Linked DNA regions of Homo sapiens: all the other regions are linked to region 1. Evidence: promoter capture Hi-C in human tissues and cell types (Jung and others, 2019). All regions are on one chromosome and are shown on one strand. The core of a region is centred on a gene start or on the middle of the fragment in contact, and the rest is flanking DNA. Distances in the headings are between cores, read along the strand shown. Region 1 holds the start of HK3 (hexokinase 3). Region 2 has its middle 9.1 kb from the start of LINC01574. Region 3 has its middle 22 kb from the start of LINC01574.

Region 1 (3,853 bases), core at 311-2,810:
TATCTCGCCCATTCCCAAGGTTTCATTAATAGCTGTGTCAGGGCTCCCAAATCTACCTTTGGCCTCAGCCAAATCCTAAATCCCAGTGGTCTGTTAGACATCACTATCTGGATGGTGGAGAAGCTCCTCAAATTCAACAAAGCCATACTCATTTTTCCATCACCTTACCCCCACAAAGCTCTTCTGTTCTCCACCTTGACTGGAGACATCGAAGTGTGCTCACTCACACGGCCGTTCGGGCTGCCTGCGCGCATCCCTCACCCTCACCTCCTCTATGCAATTGGATCTCAGGCTCTCTAAGAGCTCTCCTCTGCATCCCCTCCTCCCCATTCCCACACACTGCACCAGACCATCCTCCGGCCTGATTATTACAACAGCCTCCTAAACTGATAGCTCTGCTTCTAGTTTCTTCACCTCCTTACCCCACCCAACTTGATCACCTCTGCACTCATGGCCGGCACAGGGTCTGGTATAGGTATGTGCTAATGTGCCTTTCCAAAATTGGAAGCAAGGGGAGTGGGTAGTTTTTTATTTAATAAAGCAACAAATCAGCTTCTGATAAATCTCCCCAAACCATACATACCTATGCTGAGTTTCCAAATCTGTCAAATAGGGGTGTGGAATTCTTGTTCTATGCTGCAGGTCTATTTCAAGGATAAAATGAGGTAACTGGGGCAATTACCTTCGAAAAGGACTAAGGGCTACACACGTGTCTTTCTCAAGGCCCAGCTAGTTCATTTATTCATTCACTCACTCATTCATTCCCTCATCCATTCAATATTTATTCAGCATTTTTACATGACAGAATCTGTGAAGCAATCCCCAAGTAGCCCTAATATTTATATGCTAGGTAAATGTATTCAGCTCTGTCTCTTCCCACTGAGATTCCCTGTGGGGAGGGACATGTCTCCTTCACTGCAGTATCCCCAGAGCCCAGGGTCTGTTTGCCTAAGGGCCCCGTGGCTTCCCTTAGCTGAATGGGCTACACGAAGTGAGTTTTCCTCCTGAAAAGTACCCCAGGGACCTCTACTGATGTTGGGAGCTGCCATCGAGAACCAGCTGGCAGGCTGGGTGTGGTGGCTTGCACCTGTAATCCCAGCACTTTGGGAGGCTGAGGCAGACAGACTGCTTGAGCCCAGGAATGTGAGACTAGCCTGGGCAACATGGCAAAACGCCATCGCTAGAAAAAAATAACAAAAATTAGCTGGGTGTGGTGGTGTGCGCCTGTAGTCTCAGCTACTCCGGAGGCTGAGGTGGGAGGATCACTTGAACCCAGGAGGTCAAGGCTGGAGTGAGCCCTGACTGTGCCACTGTACTCCAGTCTGGGTGATAGAGAGAGAGACCCCATCTCAAAAACAAAGAAAGAGAACCAGCTGGCTTAATCTTTCCAGTGTCCACTTCCCCTGGTGTGAGCCAAACAGGAGGGATGAGGACAAGACAGCTGTGGAAGGAGCAGGCAGTAATTAGACCGAAGTGCTTACCTGGGACACAGAGAAGCTAGTCACTCTCCTCAGGTCTGAGCTCTTGTCTGGCAATATGAGGCACCCCAATGACCAAAAGCAACACTCAGGGGTGACCCGAGTTATAATATCCTCAAGCCCCACCCTTTTCCTCCACCACCACTTACCAAACATCAGCTAATTCAGGAAGCTGCACTTCCTTCCAAGCCTGCCCTAAGAGTAGCCCAGGCTAGGCAAGGCTGTGGTGAAAACTTGAGCAAGATGATTACCGCGAAGTGGAGCGTTGAACTGGGTCTAAGATTTTGGGCCATTCCCTCTACAATGCTGAGGGCTGTTTATTTTGCAAATATAGTGAGTTCTGAGGTGGTGGCTCGCCCCTAGAAGGAGCTGGAGGCGCCTAGCCTGGAAAGGTTATGGTAAGTACTTTTGAGCAAGAGGCAATGTGGGAGCACAAGCGGAAGGGACTGACTCTGCCGAGAGTGGGCAGGGCTAGCTGAAGAAGCTGAGTCTTGAAGAAAGAACAGCAGTATGCTGACAAAAGTGGTCCTTGACAAAGTGGAGAGCATGTGCACAACCACAAATCACACACACACAGCAATGAGGTGCAGCTCCAGGCGCCTGAAGAGGGTACACCAAGGTAGGAATATATAGTGGGAGAGGAGGTGACAGGCAGACTGCGGAGTCTAGCCTTTAGTCTGTAGCCTGCGCAGGGAGAGTAGGTTCACATCTTAGGTCTTCTCTACTGGAAGAAGGGGAGTGTTAGGCTGCTGTGGAGCTATTGGCGAACAAGCTGTTTTTCTGTGGGAATTTCTCCTCAAAGGCACAGAACCTTGGGGCACCAATGTAGAATACTAGACAGCCTGCAACAATCTTTGTTGAAGGCATGGATACACTTTAAAGCTTCAGGCTGCCTTGTCAGCAGTAACTCTATCCACAGATAGTAGGCCTCCACATGACATCAGGATGGAGACCAGAGATAGTGGCTCCTCTATCAGTAGTGGCATGAAGAGGCCAGGAAACATGCCAAACATCAGTCCTGCTGTGAAGTTTACTGGGTACCAACCAGGCATATAGGCTGTGAAAGGCAGGGAAGTGGGGGATGGGGTGGCAGAGGGTAGAGTGGCTGTCACAAACAACACAGCATCCTGCCTAGCCTGGGATCCCAGTCCCTTTCAACTTTGTTCAGTTGGGAGAGGAGAATGTGGAACTGACTATGAAAGGCCCAGCTGTGATTCATGCAGATAGCCTGCCATTTCTTGAGCCAGGGTGAGGATATGCCCCTGACAAGCATGGCCAGGGCTCTTCATCTGCGTTTCTGGAAGGTCTGTGTCCAGACCCCAGGAGCAGGGGTCCTGGTTCCCTAGTCAGAATGCCAGGGAAAGTCTGGGTCAAGGCCAGTGGAGGGAGAAGGATGGCTGAGCTTGAGGTCTGTGAGCAGCTGGGACAGCCTGGCTGTAGCAGAGGCACTGCAGCTGCCAGCGGTTCTCTTCAGACACCAGATGGCCACTGACCAACAAAGGGAAGGACAAGTCCTCACGAGGTTCCCTCATAGCCCCTTAGTGCCAATCTCCAACTGTAGAGATGGAGCTAAGGAATGAGGAAAGGCAGTTTGCTGGGGGAGAGGTGGGCACAACCAGAGCACTGCCGATGGGCTGGGAGGTCAGGCCTTCCCTCTGCGCTTGCTCACAGGCTTCTCACCACTCACAGTGCCCATGCCAGGCACAGAGATCCTCAATAAGCTCCCCCAATTTGTTCCACACCCTTTATACCGTGAATGTGCCTTGCAGCTCTCCTACACACATCGAGCTACTTCTGTTGTGTCTTTGTTTGCACTGACTTGTCTGGAATGACCCTCCCTTTGGCCTCTCCCACCTTTTCACCTCATTTTTCCTCATCCCTTAAATTATAATCATCAACGACAATGAGGAGCCCTTCTCTGAAAAGCTCCTCCTGGCCGACCCCAGCTGAGTGTGGTCTGCTTATTGGTTCCGTATTATGATGCATGTTCTTGTATCACTGCATTTATATCTGTTTATTAAAGGCATCTGTTTATGTGTTCTTCTTCCCCATTGTACTATGGGCTCCCAGAGAATGTTTCTTATTCACCCGTGCAGCCTCAGACCTCAGTTCTTTATCTGGCAAGGAACAAGTATCAATTAATTTTTGTTAAATTGAAGAGCCCTCCCACAATCTCAATAGTCCACGGCTGGCCAAGCATGATGGCTCACGCCTGTAATCCCAACACTTTGGGAAGCCGAGGTGGACGGATCACTTGAGGTCAGGAATTCATGATCAGCCTGGCCAATACAGTGAAACCCCGTCTCTACTAAAAATTAAAAAAATTAGCCGGGCGTGGTGGTGTGCACCTGTAATCCCAGCTACTCGGGAGGCTG
Region 2 (3,958 bases), core at 852-3,351, 150 kb before region 1:
GCCAGAGCTTTCTGAGCATGTGGATCAGTCGGAATGCTCCAGCAATAATGAGTAACTTTGAATAATGCTTGAGCAAAGTTTCCCAGCAGCTGAGCGGAGGCCGTGGGTTCGCCGGGAGCACTGCAGGCCCTTGGTCCTGTCCCCAGGGCTGCTCATGGAGGATGGAGGAGCATGCAAACAGCACTTTAAGTGATCATCGCTGATCCTTTCTGTTCCTCTGTATCAGAAAAAATACTCTAGCACAGCAAACCTGTGATTTCTCCAACATTCTTATTCAAGACAAGGAGAAACTAGGTATTTAAATGAACTGAAACAAATAAGTAAATAATACCGCGTGTGGTACAAGGGTATAGCGAAAATCATGAGTGTATCATGCAAATGACTAAAGTTTGGGAGATGTGGCTTTTTGTCACATAGCCGTGGTCCTCAGCATGAAAGCACACACACTCTGAGCTCCCTGCTCCTGCCTTCTGTGATCAATGTTTCTAAAGCCCGTGGGCAGCCAGAAATCAGAGTACAATAAATATGTGCAATGGAATGTGGAGGGAGAGTGCAATGAGGATGTTTTTTGGTCTCAATAACAATTTTTTCTTTGGTCTCACCTACAAAGTAGAAGGTCACTAATCCATGAATTGCAGATCAAAAGGAAACTTTGAGACCATGTGGTGAATCAAGCATTCTCACCCTATTTCACAGACGAGGAGACTGAGTCTCAGAGGAGAAGGGGACTTGCCTAAGATTATACAGCAAGTGAGAACTGGCCCTAGAAAGCAATTTTTAGATCAAAAACAACAGCCTAAATTCCTGGACGTATAACACATGCCTACAAATCAATAAGAAAGAACCAGTCGAAAAACGGGGTAAGGATTTCAGAGAAAATACAAACATCATTTAAACATCAGAAAAGATGCTCAACTCCGGGCATAATAGACACACACGTTAAAATTATACTGACACATCTGCTTCTAGCTATGATGGACTAGCCTGCATCAGACCAATCACCCTGCTGGGAGCAATTCGGAAGGCTGGATGAAATACTACAGAAACAGCTGTTTGAAGATACTGGAGAGGCACCAAGGGTCCCAGATCCCAGATCCCAGAGAGGAGGGAAGCTCACAGAGGGGAGCCTGCTGTTCGGCAGAGCTCTGTCCCCTGCAGTGTTTGCCACTTCTGAGCAGTGCCTGAGAGGCTGAGAAGCACGTTAGCCATCTCATGGGGCTGGGGAGACAAAAACTGGAATCCAGGGCCTCTTGAGAAATAAGGACCCTATCTATATCCCCATATTCAGAACAGCACGACAAAATAGCTTAAAGGCAGAAGCAACTCAAGCGCCCATCGACAGATGAAAAAGGATAAACAAAATGTGGCATATACACTCAAGGGAACATTACTCAGCTTTAAAAAGGAAGGAAGTTCTGACACACGGTACGATGTGGATGAACCTAGACAACGTTACGCTAAGTGAAGTCAGCCAGTTGCATGAAGACAAATACTGCATGATTCCACTTACGTGAGATATTCAGAGTAATCACCTTCATAGAGACAGAAAGTGGAATGGTAGTTGCCAGGGGCTTGAAGGAGGTGGAATTAGGAGTTAGTGTTTAATAGATGTGGCGTTTCACTTGGGGATGATGGAAAGAGTTCTGGAGATGGATGGTGCTGATGGCTGCACAACAATGGGAAGGTACTTAATGCACTGACATACACACTTAAACAGGGTTAAGATGGTAAATCTTATGTTCTGTGTATTTCAGAACAATTTTTCTAAAAGCAAGAACGTTGGTAAATAGCCTAGGCTTTCATCCGGGATCCCAAAGCACTATACCCTAGAAGTAAGTTAGCCAGAACGAAACCGGCCCTTTCAGGGACTGCAGGCCTGTTTCAAATCATCTTAATTCCTGGTTGGATAAATGCAATTTAAGATTGATGCTGCCCCTGGCTTAGCAGAAGTTAAAGTAAATCCTCCCTGGAGGAGGATAACAGCATCCAGAGCCTCAAATTACCTTTTCCATGTTCATTTATTATGTCTGATATTCAGTGAAAAACAGAAATGCAGAAATACAAGAACGGGATGAAAACCAAGAGAAAAATAACACATTACAAACATATCCACGTGGTCTCAGATATTCGAGGTACCATAGTTGGCCTTTGAAATAACTGTAATTAGTATATTCAAGAAGCTAGATAACAAGAACGGGAATTTCAGCAGAGAACTAGAAACTATTAGAAAAAAGAATCAAATGGAAATTCTAAAAATAAAAAAGGGGGTGATAAATTTGACAGAAGATGTGTAAGATCTGCACATATAAAACTCAAAACATTGCTGAGAGAAATTAAAGGAAATATAAATACAGAAATACATTGCGTTCATGGATTGGAAGATTCAATGTGGTTAAGATGTTGATTCTCCCAAACTCATCTATAAAAACAATTTTTTTTTTTTTTGGTGGAGATTGACAAGCTCATTCTAAAATCTCTATGGAATGATCTAGAATAACCAAACATTTTGAAAAAGAAGAATAAGATGGGGAATTTACACTACCTTATTTCGAGACATTATTAAAGCTACAATAGTCAAGACAGTGTGGTATTGGTATAAAGATAGACATCTAGATCAATGGAACAGAAGAATGATTCAAGAAACAGACCACAGCTGTTGATTTTTGAAAAAGATACCAAGGCAATTAATGAATAAAGGATATTCTTTTCAACAACTGATGCTAGAACACTTGGATAAACATATGTAAAAAGATAAAAATAAAATTTAAAAGAAACCTTGACCTTATCTCACACCGTATACAAACTGAAATGGTCTATGATCCTTGAAATTAGGGTCTATGATCCTCATAAAGTAGGCCTAAAAAATTAGATGTATGGTCCTTGAAATGGATCATAGACCAAAATGTAAAAGCAAAGCTATAAAACTTCTAGAAGAAAATCTTAGCAATCTTGGGTTTGGTAAAGTTTTCTTAAATATGACAAAAACAATGACATATACAAGAAAAATAATAAAATGGACTTCACTAAGCTTAAAATATTTAGTCTTTAAAAGACACTATTCTGTTTGGCAGTTTCTTAAATATATACTTGCCATATGACTTAGCAATTCTTCTAGAAGAAAAGATGTGTTCACACAAAGACTTGCATGTGATTGCTAATGACAACTTTAATTATAATAGGCAAAAACTGGAAACAATTCAAATGTCCATCAAATGGTAAATTCATAAGCAAAGTATGGTATATTCACATAATGGAATACTACTCAGCAATGAAATGAGTTATTGATAGATGCAACAAGATATAGATGAATCTCAAAAACATTATGCTAAGTGAGAGAAGCCAGACACAAAAGGATATATGTGTATATATTTTTAGAGACAAGGTCTCACTCTGTTGCCCAGGCTGAAGTGCAGTAGCTCACGATAACCTTGAACACCTGTGCTTAAGTGATCCTCCCACCTCGGCTTCCCGAATAGCTGGGACTACAGGCGTCCTCCACCATGCCTGGCTAGTTTTTCAAATTTTTTGTAAAGACAAAGTCTCACTATGTTGCCCAGGCCCAAACTCCTGCCTCAAGCGATCCTCTTGCCTTGGCCTCCTGAGTCACTGGGATTACAGGTGTGAGCCACCACACCCAGTCTGTATGTTTATATACATACATACATACATACGTATATATATATATGAAATTTCTAGAAAAGGCAAAACTATATATCTAATAAGCATATCAGTGAGTGTCTGAGGCCCATGATGAGAGTGAGGCATGACTATAAACAGGCACAGGGGAACTTTTGGGGGTAGGGAAAGTGTTCTAAAATGGTATTGTGGTGATAGGTGAACAATCAAATTATTTACTAAAAATCATTGACCTGCACACTTACAATGGACGAATTGTATAATGTGTAAATTAGACTTTAGTAAAGCTGTTAAAAGTGGGAGGAAAAGACAGTGATAAAAA
Region 3 (3,860 bases), core at 529-3,028, 180 kb before region 1:
AGTTTTTATTGTAAAACCAATGTAACGTGAAACATTTTTGGGAAAAAATGGGGAAATCATCCATAATTCTACCTGGCACAACTATTTTCATTTTTATTTTTCCATGTATATTGCCTTCAAGCCCTTTTCCTAAAATGTCCATAGCTCCAATCCTGGTAGTTACTCCCCATAAAACCTGGCTCACAGGACAGGTCCCAAGGCAGCTTTCCTGGACCCTGAGTAACTCCTTGTCTCTCTGCCTCTGTCCTTGACCTTCTCACCCCAAGTGTCGTTCCTTGTTTTCACGTCTCTCCTGCCCTGACGGGGCCAGGAGCTTCCTGGGGGCAGGAGGGCTCCCGCGAGTCTCTTGTGTCCCAAGCACAGAGCCTGGCGCGTGGTTTGTGCTTCTTGCGGTCACAGTTTGGCATTCTGTGCTGTCACTGTGTGTTAGAACAGACGCCTTTTCCCTTGTTGCTCTGTAGTTTTCATAACGATCATTTTTAACCACTCCAGAATATTTCATCAAGTGGATGTTCCATAATTTAGTTAACCAGTCCCCTACCGGGGAACATTTGGGTTGTTTCCAGTTTTTTCTGTATTACAAATAATGCCGCAACAACTGTCCTTGTGCAAGATCATTTATTTCTCCTTTTGAGTAAATTCGTGGAATCCCTGGGTCAGGCAGGCCCCTGGGCTTGGGCACGGCTCACAGGGAGGGACACAGTGCCCCCACCACCATCCCTTCCCTCAGCATAAACACATTCTGTGATGACACAGATCTGTCTTCCTGCTCTTCTGAGCAGTCAGAGATTGTGTTGTCCTCATTCAGCAAATGTTTATTAAAGTTTTATCTATCTTGGATTCTCCAGAGCCTTGTCTTATGCCTTCTGGCTGCTGTAATAAAGCACCATCAGCTAGGTGGCTTACAAACCATAACAGTTTGTTTCTCAAGGTTCTGGAGACTGGGTCAGAGATCAGGGCACTGGCAGGGGTTCTGGTGAGGGCCACTCTTCTGGTTTTGGACGTCAACTTCTTATTGTGTCATCATGGCAGAAAGAGGGCCAGAGAGCTCTCTGGGGTCCCTTTGATAAGGGCACTAATCCATCCATGAGGCTCCACCCTCATGACCAGGGGACCGAGGTTACTTTTTTTTTGGAGAGAGGGTCTCACCCTGTCGCCCAGGCTGCAGTGCAGTGTGGCGATCTCGGCTCACTGCAACCTCTGCCTCCTGGGTTCAAGTGATTCTCCTGCCTCAGCCTCTCGAATAGCTGGGATTACAGGTGTGCACCACCACACTCAGCTAATTTTTGTATTTTAGTAGAGACAGGGTTTCACCATGTTGGTCAGGCTGTTCTCGAACTCCCAACCTCAAGTGATCCGCCCGCCTCGGCCTCCCAAAGTGCTGGGATTACAGGCGTGAGCCACCATGCCCGGCAGAGGTTCCTTTTGACCACCTTAAAACCATCACACTGGGGGTTAGGGCTTTGACGTAGGAATTTGGGGGGATATTGACGTAACAGCCTGTTACATAACCTGGTGTGTCTGAGGCATTTGTGGCCTTGACCTGATGTGCCTGCCCCACATCTGTGCCCCATCTTCTGGCTGCTGGCTCACTGATTTTCTCCTGGGGAACCCCCACCCGTGCCCATGTGCCGCTTCAGTGGGACTGAGGTGACTTTCTGTTACAGCAGTGGACTTGGGCATCAGGCCTGGCCAATCAGAGTACTGCATCTCTGCTTTACAGGGATTGGTTCAGGGAATGTCACATGACTGAGTCAGAGCCAATGATTTGCAACCTTGCGACACTTAGCAATGCCCTTTCTTCCCCCTCAGGGCTGTGAGGACGTCCCAGGAATGATGCCATAATGTCGCTGATGTCATATCGACATAATATTGACAGCGAACATCAGAGCTGCCTGCAGCCAATTTGCCACTGTCTAGGGAGAATCCCTGAAGATGGTGCCAACACAAGGGGAGAGCACCAAGGGAGGCAGAGAGAACCTTCCTTCATTTACTCCTCCTGCCTCTATGTGCTAAGCCCCACTCTGTGCCAGGCCCATTCCTGGCCCTGGGGAAACAGCCACGAACAAGACAGAGTCCCTATTCTCACGGTGCTGACATCCTAGTGAGAGGTGACAGCGTGCTGGCAGTCGTCGCAGCCCTCGCTCGCTCTTGGTGCCTCCTTGGCCTCGGCACTTTTGTGTCTAGCTTGGGGATCGTAAAGGCACCAATCAGCACCCTGTCAAAACGGACCAATCCACTCTCTGTAAAACAGAACAGTCAGCTCTCTGTAAAATGGACCAATCAGCAGGATGTGGGTGGGGCCAGATAAGGGAATAAAAGCAGGCTGCCCGAGCCAGCAGTGGCAACCCGCTCGGGGCCCCTTCCACACTGTGGAAGCTTTGTTTTTTCGCTCCTTGCAATAAATTTTGCTGCTGCTCACCGTTTGGGTCCACACTGCGTTTATGAGCTGTAACACTCACTGGGAAGGTCTGCAGCTTTACTCCTGAGGCCAGCGAGACCACGAACCCACTGGGAGGAAGAAACTGAACACTTCCGAACATCAGAAGGAACAAACTGCGGACACGCGGCCTTTAAGAACTGTTAACACTCACCGCGAGGGTCCGCGGCTTCATTCTTGAAATCAGTGAGACCAAGAACCCACCAATTCCAGACACACTAGCAGGGAGAAGCAGGCCCTAAGCCCAGTAAGCACACAGGTAAACAAGTGAGTAAGTAGGATTGCTCCAGAAAGTGGCAACTGCAGAGAAGAGAAACAGCCCATAGGGGTGAGAGCGGGTAGCTGACGGAGCGTGGCTATTGTGGACTGGCCTTCAGGGGGCCTCTGAAGAGTTGACATTTGAGCGACTTGAACGATGTATTCCAGTTGGAGGCAGTCACCTAAGGCCTAAAGTGGGACATGGCATTGTGCATGTTTTTTGCTTTGTTTTGTTTTACATTTTTCTTTTCTTTCTTTTTTTTTTTTTTTTGAGACAGCGTCTCACTCTGTCACCCAGGCTGGAGGGCAGTGGCATAATCACGGCTCACTGCAGCCTCAAATTCCCCAGGCTCAGGTGATCCTCTCACCTCAGCCTCCCAAGTAGCTGAGATCACAGGCACATGGCACCACACCTGGCTAATTTTTGTATTTTTTGTAGAGACGGGCATCTTCCTATGTTCCCCGGCTGGTCTTGAACTCCTGGTTTCAAGTGATCCGCCCGCCTCCAGCTTCCAAAGTGGTGGGATTACAGGCATGAGCCACTGTGTCTGGTCTTTAATTTTTCAAATATGGTAAAATACACATAACATAAACTACCATTAACCATTTTTTTTCCTGCACAGTTTAGTAGATATGCAGGTTTTGAAGATATTTTTGAACCCCTGGATCCAGCAGTTTCCAAAGCCATCTGCTTCCTGACTTTTCAGGTTTATAAGCCAGTAGTCACCCCAAGTTTGAACTGGATTTTCTGCCACTGGCTCCTGGAGCCTGAGACAATCAGCATTGTTGGAAATCTCTAGAAACACGCTACTCCCCGCAATGCATCTGTTCCCTGCGTCTCTGCAGCCTCACCAGCTCTGGGTATTATCATCAAGCAGCATTAAAGCCTAGAATATGAAATTCAGGGGGAAACAACTGATCCAAGGCGGGAGAGAACCAAAACCGGCCTCGCCTCTCCTCCTGTGAGTTCTCGGTGCCCATCCACACACAACTGGGTTCGGGCCGCTTTGTTCTTTGCTCTGAGCTGTTGTCTTATGGCAGGTTGTGACATTTCCACCTGGAGGTGTCCCGCTCATTGCTCTGGGGACGTTTTTATTTTCATATTTAAAGAGAATTTTTGTGGCAGTCTGTGTCACCAAGGGCTGTCGGGAGCCCCTGGCAA

The links. Contacts are between HindIII fragments. The study calls those that stand out against the background at their distance.
Region 2: a fragment that was not itself captured here is called in contact with the fragment with the promoter of HK3 in region 1 in 2 of the 25 tissues and cell types used here (IMR-90 fibroblasts and lymphoblastoid cells).
Region 3: a contact is called between a fragment that was not itself captured here and the fragment with the promoter of HK3 in region 1, in 2 of the 25 tissues and cell types used here (liver and mesendoderm cells).

What each region holds. Positions count from the first base shown.
Region 1 is chr5:176,897,786-176,901,638 of GRCh38, forward strand. HK3 (hexokinase 3) reads right to left here and starts at 1,561. Exons shown (of 19, transcript NM_002115.3): 1 at 1,482-1,561. RefSeq lists an enhancer at 2,381-2,882. The HindIII fragment of the contact is 11,300 bases long and covers 1-3,313 here.
Region 2 is chr5:176,750,312-176,754,269 of GRCh38, forward strand. No RefSeq gene overlaps it. Among named protein-coding and RNA genes, the nearest start is that of LINC01574, 9.1 kb to the left of the region's middle. The HindIII fragment of the contact is 5,468 bases long and covers 1-3,958 here.
Region 3 is chr5:176,718,931-176,722,790 of GRCh38, forward strand. No RefSeq gene overlaps it. Among named protein-coding and RNA genes, the nearest start is that of LINC01574, 22 kb to the right of the region's middle. RefSeq lists an enhancer at 2,208-2,707. The HindIII fragment of the contact is 3,324 bases long and covers 117-3,440 here.